Linked DNA regions of Homo sapiens: all the other regions are linked to region 1. Evidence: promoter capture Hi-C in human tissues and cell types (Jung and others, 2019). All regions are on one chromosome and are shown on one strand. The core of a region is centred on a gene start or on the middle of the fragment in contact, and the rest is flanking DNA. Distances in the headings are between cores, read along the strand shown.

What was found. The method cuts DNA at HindIII sites, captures the fragments that hold promoters and counts their contacts. A contact is called where the count stands out against the background at its distance.
Region 2: a contact is called between a fragment that was not itself captured here and the fragment with the promoter of CD46 in region 1, in 2 of the 25 tissues and cell types used here (adrenal gland and mesendoderm cells).
Region 3: a fragment that was not itself captured here is called in contact with the fragment with the promoter of CD46 in region 1 in 2 of the 25 tissues and cell types used here (pancreas and psoas muscle).

Annotation. Positions count from the first base shown.
Region 1 is chr1:207,750,158-207,753,793 of GRCh38, forward strand. CD46 (CD46 molecule) reads left to right here and starts at 1,897. Exons shown (of 13, transcript NM_172351.3): 1 at 1,897-2,152. The coding sequence starts at 2,056. RefSeq lists silencers at 1,738-1,847, 2,427-2,784 and an enhancer at 1,948-2,157. The HindIII fragment of the contact is 5,032 bases long and covers 1-2,749 here.
Region 2 is chr1:207,700,662-207,704,297 of GRCh38, forward strand. CR1L (complement C3b/C4b receptor 1 like) reads left to right here. Exons shown (of 12, transcript NM_175710.2): 9 at 858-957. Among named protein-coding and RNA genes, the nearest start is that of CD46, 50 kb to the right of the region's middle. The HindIII fragment of the contact is 3,747 bases long and covers 2-3,636 here.
Region 3 is chr1:207,787,938-207,791,573 of GRCh38, forward strand. CD46 (CD46 molecule) reads left to right here. Exons shown (of 13, transcript NM_172351.3): 12 at 2,316-2,408. The coding sequence ends at 2,367. Among named protein-coding and RNA genes, the nearest start is that of MIR29C, 12 kb to the right of the region's middle. The HindIII fragment of the contact is 9,415 bases long and covers 1-3,636 here.

The sequences.
Region 1 (3,636 bases), core at 647-3,146:
CTTTAATTATACCCGCTTTAATTGCTGTCATGGAGTGTTGAATTTTATAATCCAAGATACTAAGATGTTTATCTGATATACCACCTCCACACTTAATGTCTTATAATCTCTGCCAAGAATTTAAAAATTTTTGTTGGTCGGACAGGAAGAGGAAATTCCATGGTTTGGTGAACCCAGAAATTGTTCAGTACATCTCGGTTATAAAACTGTGTTAAATACACTTAAACTCTATAATTCTATAAGACCCATTTTAGGTTTATACACTGAGCATCCAGTTCCTCACCGTCCTCTCATAGGTTAACCCTGTGTAATACAAGTTCTGCTCCCATAATTCTATGAACAAAACAGCCCTTGATATATAGGTTTGATTTTTTAAATACATTTTCTTTACTTTATTCTAAATGTAACATAAGGTCAACATAGAAAACTGAAAAGCATAAGGAAAGTGAAATATCTGTAATCTTATCAACCATTGTTAATTTTGCTGTATTCCTAGTTTCTTTTTATACATATCAATATGGTACTTTTGTTTTAATAAAAGGACTGCCAAAAGGCACATGCCAGTTTGGACTCTGCTTTTTCCACTTACAATGATATCATAGTTTCTCATATTTGGTATTCTTTTGCAATATTTGCTGCATAGAATTCCATCACACAAAGGTAACTGCCAGAAATTCTTTATTACTTTTGCTAGACACTTAGGGTTTACATTTTTTCAAAAATTAATCACATCAGAGTTTTGATCACATCAGAGCTTTGATCACAGCTCTGATGATTTCTCTGGGAACTGAGAGCCTAACACAAGTCATGTCCACTTTAAGACTTTTAACATACTGAAAAGTTATGTTACAGAGTGCTGGTCCCCCTGCAACACGTTCACTCACATTGGCTGACGTTTTAATTCTTTGCCAATCTGAGGGGAAGAAATGTCAACTCTTTGTTTGCTCTTTTAATGTCAGTCATGTCCTTTTCCTTTTACCGGTCATTCCGGTTTACTCACAATCCTACAAATCAATCCTGCTCATTCTTAATTTTCCAGTATTGTTCCTCAGATTGTTTCACCAGAAAAGTTCTCCCCCTTATCCACTCTTCACCTAACAATTTCTACCCATCCGAATCCTTCTGCATTTATTGCTTCCAGGAATTTGGCACTTAGGACACCCTTGTCCTTACATTGTTCATGCATGTATATTTCGTCTTCAATAAAAAATTTAGTTGCTCAAGGGCAAGGGCCCCATAGAGTCTCAATATTCTAATTGCCTGGTGTTGCTTAATAAATTAGATTCGGAAGGGTCCCCTCCAGGGAGGGGAGCAAAGGGCAAATTACCTTAGGGGCTGGGAGTGCAGAAGCCAAACCTTTGAGATTGTGAAAACAAGACGGCCCCGAGACGATCCAGTAGCAGGCATTCAAGCAAGAAAAACTCAAATATTGTTCCCAATAATGCCTGACTAATGCCAAATACCAAGTAAGGGCCCAGGCAGTCCTGACAGCCTGCAGTGCCCCAGGATAAAACTAACCCTGAGGGGTGCTAGCCCACGGTGACCCCCTGTCTAGACTCTGGATCTCTATTTTTAGGTCGAAGTGCTTTATTCTTGACTCCCGAATTCCCGGAAACTATTACCAAAGCAGCTTAGTTTTCTCTCCACCCTGCCTGGGTCACAAATATGACGGCGAGCCAGTCCTTTCCCGCAGGACGCCTCAGGCTTCCGGGATGGTAGGCCAAGGGCTTAGCAAGAAAAAAGGCGGCCTCGGGGAACCTGTTCTGTTAGGTTCCGCCAGGGCCTCCCCCTGACCTCTCGAAGGCCAAGGGCTGCCCATGAACGCCGAGGCTCCGCCCCGCGGCCCGCCGATTGGCCCCAGCCGCCCTGGTGACTCGACGCACTTCCGCCCCGGGCGCGGCTCGGGCCACGCCCACCTGTCCTGCAGCACTGGATGCTTTGTGAGTTGGGGATTGTTGCGTCCCATATCTGGACCCAGAAGGGACTTCCCTGCTCGGCTGGCTCTCGGTTTCTCTGCTTTCCTCCGGAGAAATAACAGCGTCTTCCGCGCCGCGCATGGAGCCTCCCGGCCGCCGCGAGTGTCCCTTTCCTTCCTGGCGCTTTCCTGGGTTGCTTCTGGCGGCCATGGTGTTGCTGCTGTACTCCTTCTCCGGTAGGACCCCGGGGCGGGTTCGCGCGTCCGCGGCGAGACTAGAGCTCTCCTCAGTCGGGCAAGAGTCGCGGGGCGGGGCTCACAGCAGGCCGTGCCTGTTTGGGGACAGGGTTCTCTGAGGGGTGCAGTGCTCAGATCCCGGGGGTATGTGGCGGGGAATGCGGGGACCACGCAGAGCCCGAGGTGAAGCTTGTTTGGTGGCGTCGTGTGCGCGGCCAGCATTTACGCAGGATCTGGCTGCGTCCCTAAAAAAAGCGTGAATCGTGTTTTCGGGATTGAGCCAGTCGGCCAGGGGAGCGCGGACTGGGCGCCCTAGGTGAGGGCTTGTTCTGGAGTGCACAGGTGCGTGGGAGTGTTGCTAGGGCCCGTGCTGTGTCCGTGGTGAGAGTTTGCCCTGTGTTCCCTTGGTGCCTTGGTGAGTGGGGTGTTCATTAGGGCTTGGACAGTACCCGCGGTAAGGGTTGCAGTGCGTCTGCTGTGCCCCATGTGCTGGGCTGGGCGAGCAGGGGCCTGGCCAGGTGTTGCTGGGAGCGTGCTGTGCGTAAGTGGCCTGTGTGCAGAGTTCACTGTGGGCAAGACAGCTCAACTGTTTGCTTTGAATGGAGTGAGCGCGGACTCTGGGGCTAGGGAGGGCATGTTGAGTGAGAGCAGGCTCTCGGTGCCTGGGGTTAGAGAGGTGGTAAGGGCGCGCCATGCTTTTTGTGCCTTCTGTGAACAGTCTCCGTGTTACCTGAGCTCCTATTAGTTTGTAAATGGCTGCTTTTTTGGGGGGTGGGTGGGCCATCGAGTCTTCTTCCTGTTCCCAACCAATATAGATAGTATCTGATTCCATTGCCTAATGGCTTTTTGACATTGTTTTCCTTCTTTTCATTACTTTGAGTCATATTTGAGAGATGTGAAACAACCTAAAAAACAATGGTAGCCAAACCTAGTGAGAAATTAGTATCCTAACAAAGGAAGGCAGATAATGTTAATCTTGTTTTCCCCTGCAGCTCATAAGCTAAAGCTTAAGGCCTATCCCACTAAATTTATTTTGTATTTCATTGAATGGAATCAATACTTTTAAAAATGCATGCTAGGCCAGGCGCAGTGGCTCACGCCTGTGATCCCAGCGCTTTGGGAGGCCCAGGCGGGGTGATTGCCTGTGCCCAGGAGTTCAAGATCAACCTGGGCAACATGGCAAAACCTTGTCTCTACAAAAAAATACAAAAATTAGCTGGGCATGGTGGTTTATGCCCGTGGTCCCAGCTACTCTGGGGGCCGAGGTAGGAGATTCACTTGAGCCCAGGAGGTGAAGGCTGCAGTGAGCTGTGATCATGCCACTGCACTCCAGCCTAGATGACAGAGTGAGACCCTGTCAAAACAAAACAAACAAACAAAAAAAAAACCCGCTAAGAAATACATGCTTATTGTGCGATACGAACAGAATCAAAAGACAGCTATTTTTAATATTTTGGCATATTTGTTTCTGCCTTCATGTGCGC
Region 2 (3,636 bases), core at 625-3,124, 50 kb before region 1:
GATGATCAATATCAGTAAGTAATCAGTGAAAGTTTTCACCTATTTAAGATGATTAGCACACATATATACATTTGAGAAATATTTCCCAAGAACGTAGGCCCCTTCCTCAGCACTGTGTCCCCAGGATCCTGATGAGTGGCTGACACAGGATAAGTGCTAAATTAAGAAAGATTGACTAAATGAATGAGTAACCCTTCAAAACGGTTATTTTTCTTCTTCAAATGTTTTGCTACTTCATTAAAGTTGTAAAGTAAGTAAACTTGCACTGGATCTTTCCCATGTCTGCAAAAGCTTCTTATTGAATTTTTTCAATTGTGGGATAAGAGAAACCTTTTTTCAAAAGCGTTCAGATAGGTGGATGTAAGAGTTTTTCTTGCAGGTCGTCTTTGATTATTGCTTGAAATGCTCACTTCATGAGAATGTTTCAAGGAATATTTGTAGAGAAAATCTTCATTCCTTATGGGAAAATAAATAATAAATGACTCTATATCAGGAAATAAAGATTGTGTAGGAAGACAAATTCTGTTTGAATAACTAGGTGGGAAGAAATCCTTTGAAAACTTTATTGGTAGTAAATAATGCCATAAATGACCTTTACATTTTGATAAGGGATGCAAGGTCTCTACACAGATCTAAATCTAGATCTAGATAGATCTGGAGGGAAGGTCTTTTTGAAAGTGGGGCTTAGTAGGTGGCTGATCCTGAGGCTCTCTGATGAGTTTTCTCAAGGTGCCAAAATCTGTGGAACTATCAGAACTGCGTGTTTTCTTCAGGAAGCTACATGCAGGTTGAGACCTTACGTACTGAAGAGAGTTCAGATTACTCTACCTGGCTCCAAAACATTTTCTTTCCCACAGGTAAATCATGTGAAACTCCTCCAGTTCCAGTGAATGGCATGGTGCATGTGATCACAGACATCCATGTTGGATCCAGAATCAACTATTCTTGTACTACAGGGTGAGTTGGCAGCAACATCTCTTGGTTCCAGAGTTCCAGCACAGCAATACTACCTTCTAGCCACATCTCAGGAAGGAAACTAGGCTGTTGCCACCTGCTCTTGAGAGGTTTGAACACAGGTATTAACTCCTGATTGAAATGAACAAAGATAGGAGAAGATTAGGGGAAAAATCTGTGTCCTTGCTGGAAACCAGGGCAGTGCACACATAAAGAGTATGCCGTTCACTGGATGGGAAGGAAAAAAAATTAGGAGTATAGTAGTCAAAGCACACAAACAACCCTAACCCAGAGTAGACATTGCTGGAAGAAAGGGAAGGGCATGTAGCAGCTGTGTGAGAGAACAAATCTTAATGATAACAGCATGATCGCTTGCTAGGGCTGCCATCAAAAAGTACAGGCCTTCCTCATTTTATTGTACTTCACAGATGTTATGCTTTTTACAAATTGAAGGCTTGTGGCAACGCTGCAACAAGCATGTCAGTTGGCATCATTTATCCAACAGTGTGTGTTGACTTCGTGTCTCTGTGTAGCATTTTGGTTATTCTCACAATATCCCAGAGGTTTTCATTATTATCATGTCTGTGATAGTGATCTGTCTTCAGTGATCTTTGATGTTACTATTTTCATTGTTTGGAGTCCCTACGAACTGCACCCATATAAGACAGAAAACTTAATAAATGTGCATGCTTTGACTGCTCCATGGACAAGACATTCCCCTTCTCTCTCCCTCTCTTCAGGACTCCCTAATCCCTGAACACAATAATACTAAAATGAGGCCAATTAATAGCCCTACAATGGCCTTTAAGTGTTGACATGAAGGGAGGAGTCATGCATCTCTTACTTTAAATCAAAAGCTGGAGATGATTAAGCTTAGTGAGGAAGATATGTTGAAAGCCAAGACAGGCCAAAAGTCAGGCCTCATGTGCCAAACAGCTAGCGAGTTGCAAAGGCAAAGCAAAAGTACTTGAAGGAAACTTAAAGTGCTATTCCAGTGAACACATGAATGATAAGAAGGTGAAACAGCCTTATTGCTGATATGGAAGAAGTTTTAGTGGTCTAGATACAAGATCAAACTAGACATATTTCCTTAAGCTAAAGCCTAATCCTGAGCAAGGCCCTAACTCTCTTCAATTCTGTGAAGGCTGACAGAGGTGAGGAAGCTGCAGAAAAAAAGCTGGAAGCAGCTGGGCACTGTGGCTCATGCCTGTAATTCCAGCACTTTGGGAGGCAGAGGCAGGTGGATCACCTGAGGTCAGGTGTTCAAGACCAGCCTGACCAATATGGTGAAACCTCATATCTACTGAAAATGCAAAAATTAACCAGGCGTTGTGGCGGGTTGCCTGTAGTTCCAGCTACTCGGGAGTCTGAGGCATGAGAATAACTTGAACCCGGGAAGCAGAAGTTGCCGAGATTGTGCCACTGCACTCCAGGTTGGGTGATTCCTGAGGTTTAAGGAAAGAAGTCATCTCCATAACATAAAGGTGCAAGGTGAAGCAACAAGTGCTGACATAGAAGCTGCAGCAAGTTGTCCTGATGATCTAACTAAGATCATTGATGAAGGTGTTAAAATAAATAGCAGATTCTCCATGTAGACAAAACAGCCATCTATTGGACCTTCATAGCTAGAGAGGAGAAGCCAATGCCTGGGTTCAAAGCTTCAAAGGATAGGCTGCCTTTTTAGGAGCTAATCTCGTTGGTGAGTTTGAGTTGAAGCCAATGCTCACTGACCATTCTAAAAGCCCTAGGGCCCTTAAGAATTATGCTAAATGTACCTTGCCTGTGTCTATAAATGGAACAACAAAGTCTGATGACAGAGGTATGTTTGCAGCATGGTTTACTGAATATTTTAGGCTCACTGTTGAGATATAGTGCTCAGAAAAACAGATTCCTTTCAAAATGTTACATACAGCTCATTGACTTTGTATCCAATCAGGCAAGAGCTCTGATGGAGATGGACAAGGAGATGCATGTAGTTTTCCTGCCTGCTGACAACAGCAGCCATTCTGCAGCCCATGGCTGAGCAGTAATTTTGACTTTGAAGTTTTAGTATTTAAGAAATATATTTTGTGCCAGGCATGGTGTAATCCCAGCATATTGGGAGACCAAGGTGGGCGGATCATGAGGTCAGGATTTCAAGACCAGCCTGGCCAACATAGTGAAACCCCGTCTCTATTAAAAATACAAAAATTGGCCAGCATGGCAGAATGTGCCTGTAGTCCCAACTACTCAGGAGGCTGAGGCAGGAGAATCACCTGAACCCAGGAGGTGAAAGTTCCAGTGAGCCGAGATTGCGTCACCGCACTCCAGGTTGGGCAATAGAGGGAGACTTCAACTCAAAAAAAAGAAAAAGAAAAGAAAAGGAAAAAAAAATACATTTTGTAAGGCTATAGTTCCCACAGACAGTAATTCCTCTGATGGATCTGAACAAAGTAAGTTGAAAACTGCAGGAAAGAATTAATCATTCTACATACTGTTAAGAACACTCATGATTCATGGGAAGAGGTTAAAATATCAACATTAACAGGAGTTTGGTAGAAGTTGATTCCGACCCTCATGGATGACTTTGAGAGGTTCAAGACTTCAGCGGAGGAAATAATTGCAGATGTGACAGAAGTAGCAAGAACACTACAATTAGAAGCAGAGCCTAAAGGTGTGACTGTATTGCTACAATATCATGAT
Region 3 (3,636 bases), core at 490-2,989, 38 kb after region 1:
CTGATTCATTGGGTTTGGGGTGGAGCCTGAGACCCTGCCTGTCTAGTGAGCTCCCAGTGCTGATGCTGCTGCTGTGCCTGGGCTACACTGACCAGGGTGTTGCCCACTACTGATGTGCCTATATTGTTGAAGTCTGAAGAAACACTATGAAGCTTATTGGCAAATTTTTCTAATATTTAAGATAATTGAAGTTTTTAAGATTCCTCATCCATGTGTATCCTTAAAAAAAGGCTATGGGGTAATAAATAGTACTTGGCTTTTCTTACCTTCTTTAACTCTTAAAAAACAAAGATTTCCAGCCGGGCCTGGTGGCTCACGCCTGTAATCCCAGCACTTTGGGAGGCCGAGGCGGGCAGATCACGAGGTCAGGAGATCAAGACCATCCTGGCTAACACGGTGAAACCCCGTCTCTACTAAAAATACAAAAAAAAAAAAAAAAAAATAGTGGCGGGCGCCTGTAGTCCCAGCTACTCTGGGAGGCTGAGGCAGGAGAATGGCGTGAACCCCGGAGGCGGAGCTTGCAGTGAGCGAGATTGCGCCACTGCACTCCAGCCTGGGTGACGGAGTGAGACTCCATCTCAAAAACAAAAAACACAAAAAAACCCCAAAGATTTCCATTATTTTCTTTGCACTGTTTAATGTCCATAATCTTGTCCCCCCAGATTGGCTGTTGTGGCCTTAGAAACTTCTTATAAAGACTATAAAATGTCTGGAGGCACTTCTCCACTTCCGGGGGTAACTGGAAGCAGGCTAGCAGGCACAAATAATCTCAAATTGTTGTTAAAGCCTGGCACAAAATGTATTTCTTGTAAACTGGTATTTATGGTGATTTGGGAACGTAATTACTCTTCTGCAGCCTTCATCTCAAAATACAAAAATAGTGTAAGGAGTCATTTTAAGATCATCCAACATCATTTACATTACTTGATAAAAAGTGGGCAAAAGGTTAAAGTATTCTGCCACTTTTCTGTTTCATAGCTCTCAGCTGAGAACAGTATAGGATACCAGTGGGTCCGAAACAGGTCCCATCCACATGCTCCCTCCTTTTCCCTTCCCATTTCCTTTCTTTACTAATTCTTCTACCATACTTTTTAGTCTTGGAAGCCACAGCCCTGTCTTTGCTACTGCTTCAGTCCTGTATTGCATGGCATGACTGTGCTTCTGAACAACAGATGCCTTTTGTTTACATAAATATTTAAGTAATGGTTTTTTTTAAATGCATGATTATTTTTTAACTCTAGTTAAGCATCCCTGGATAAGTGACAGTTTGGCTAAGTTAGTGAAAGTTATTTACATAATTTATATATTTATTACCTGTGACAAATAGTTTTTCCTTTTTTCCATTAATGGTATTTATTATTTTGTATAACCTAAACTGACTTTTAATGTTACATTAATATTGACTGACCCAATTACTTTATTAAAAATAGTGGTCAGTTCAGGTAATTGGGGCATATAGTGACATGGGGCAAAAAAAGGATCAAATTAACTTAAATGTTTTTCTAGTTGGCCCTTAAATTCTTGAGCATTTAACCCTTCAAAAATTTTTGAGCAACTACAAAAATGTTTTGTAATTAGTTTAGAAAGCATCCTTACAAAATTAGATCCATCTCAGAAATATGAGACGCCATGTAATACAAAGTTTTGCAACGATGTCTCCTCAGGTTGAAAACAGATGTGCCACAGGAAGACACTTCTTAATGTAAAAGTCCAGAGACATCTGAAAATACATGATGTCATAAAGTTGATTTCTAGATAATATTACATGGATTTGATACATACTCAATGTATTCCCTCAAAATTGAGGGTGTTAGGCCGGGTTTGGTGGCTCACGCCTGTAATCCCAGCAACTTTGTGAGGCCGAGGCAGGCCGATGGCTTGAGCTCAGGAGTTTGAGATCAGCCTGGGCAACATAGTGAGATGCTGTGTCTTGAAAAAAAAAAAAAAAAAAAAAAAAAAAATCAAGAGTGCTAGAGACCGGTACCATTTCTCCCCAACAATCTGTTATTCCTTGAAAACATTTTGACATGAATCACTTCATGCAAAATGGCTTCAAAGATAAACATATTAAACAGGAATTTCCAGTCTGTTTATCTGCTGGATGATCTATATGACTTCAAAGTTCAAGTAGCTTCTAGCACAAAATTCATGTTTCCAGTCCTTCAGTGAGAATGAGAAAGTCTTAAGTTATGAACCTAATTCTCAGCTTTCCTGCTACTCTCTTACACTGGATTTTATCCCACTTGTTATGCTACTCGTTTCTTTTTGGTTTGAAGTCACTATTTTATTCAGCCGTTTTCTCTTCCTCTGTTCAGCACATACCTAACTGATGAGACCCACAGAGAAGTAAAATTTACTTCTCTCTGAGAAGGAGAGATGAGAGAAAGGTTTGCTTTTATCATTAAAAGGTATCTGTTTTCTGTTGTTTATTTTCAGATGTCCTTTCTTTTGAAAAATATTCAGTGGATATATAGATATCAATAACCTGAGCAAAGAGATATTGGCAGTAAATATCAAAGAGGAAATTTACATTCCTGTTCCCTTTGCTAAATTATTGATGTGTTCTTATACCATTCCCTTTGAAAACATAATGTGTACTGACAGGCTTTGACGTAGGCTTTAAATAGAGTTATGTTCCCCTAGTCCTTTTATCAGACGATCTCACTTCTACCTTGTAAAACAGCTGTGAATCCAAAAGTAAGAATTTGTGAGCCAACTGGGAAATAACCACAGAATCAACTCATTTTAAGTGCAAGGAGGAAAAATGCCCTTTTATAGAAACCAAAATATATTTTACTTAGTTTTGTAAATTTATTCAATTCCAACGTATAAATAACTCTGTAAAGACATTTTATCAGTTTCCCTGGGCTGGGATATTTTTAGCATATCAAAGGAAAACAAAAAAGTCCTCAGATTTTGAAAAGTAATGGATTGCATTGCCTTAAACCCTTGGACCCTGTCCACCTTCTGTCTTTGAACTGAACTGGAATTATTCCTCTGTTTGTGCTAGAATGTGTGTCCGCAGAGCTGGGAAGAGATGGAGATACATATCCCACCTCTTATAATGTGAGGCCCTAACCTAGGTTATAATTAAAAGTTTGGGAGCAGGATCTACAAAGGCCAGCTGGAAGGACAATTTCTTAGTAAAAGCAAAGTGATGTCTTTGGTTACAGGAGGAAAGGGAAAGACAAAACATACCAACCAGAATTGGCGGTCTGGGCCTACCCAGTCCTATATACAGTAGTTCCTTCTTATCCACGGGGGATACATTCCAAAACCTCTAGTGGTTGCCTGAAACCTGGGAGAGTACTAAACCTTATATATACTGTTTTCTCTTAAGCATGTATACCTATGATCATTCAATTTATAAATTAGGCACAGTAGGAGATTAACAGCAATAACTAATAACTAATAATATCAATTATAAAAATATGCCAGCATCACTACTCTTGTGCTCTGAGGCCACTAAGTAAAATAAGGGTTACCTAACCACAGGTACTGTGATACCGTGACAGTCAATCTGATAACCAAGACAGCTATTGAGTAACAGGCACATAGTGTCCACAGCATGGGTATGCTGGACGAAGGGATGATTTATATCCCGGGAGGGATGGAGTGGGACAGTGTGAGATTTCA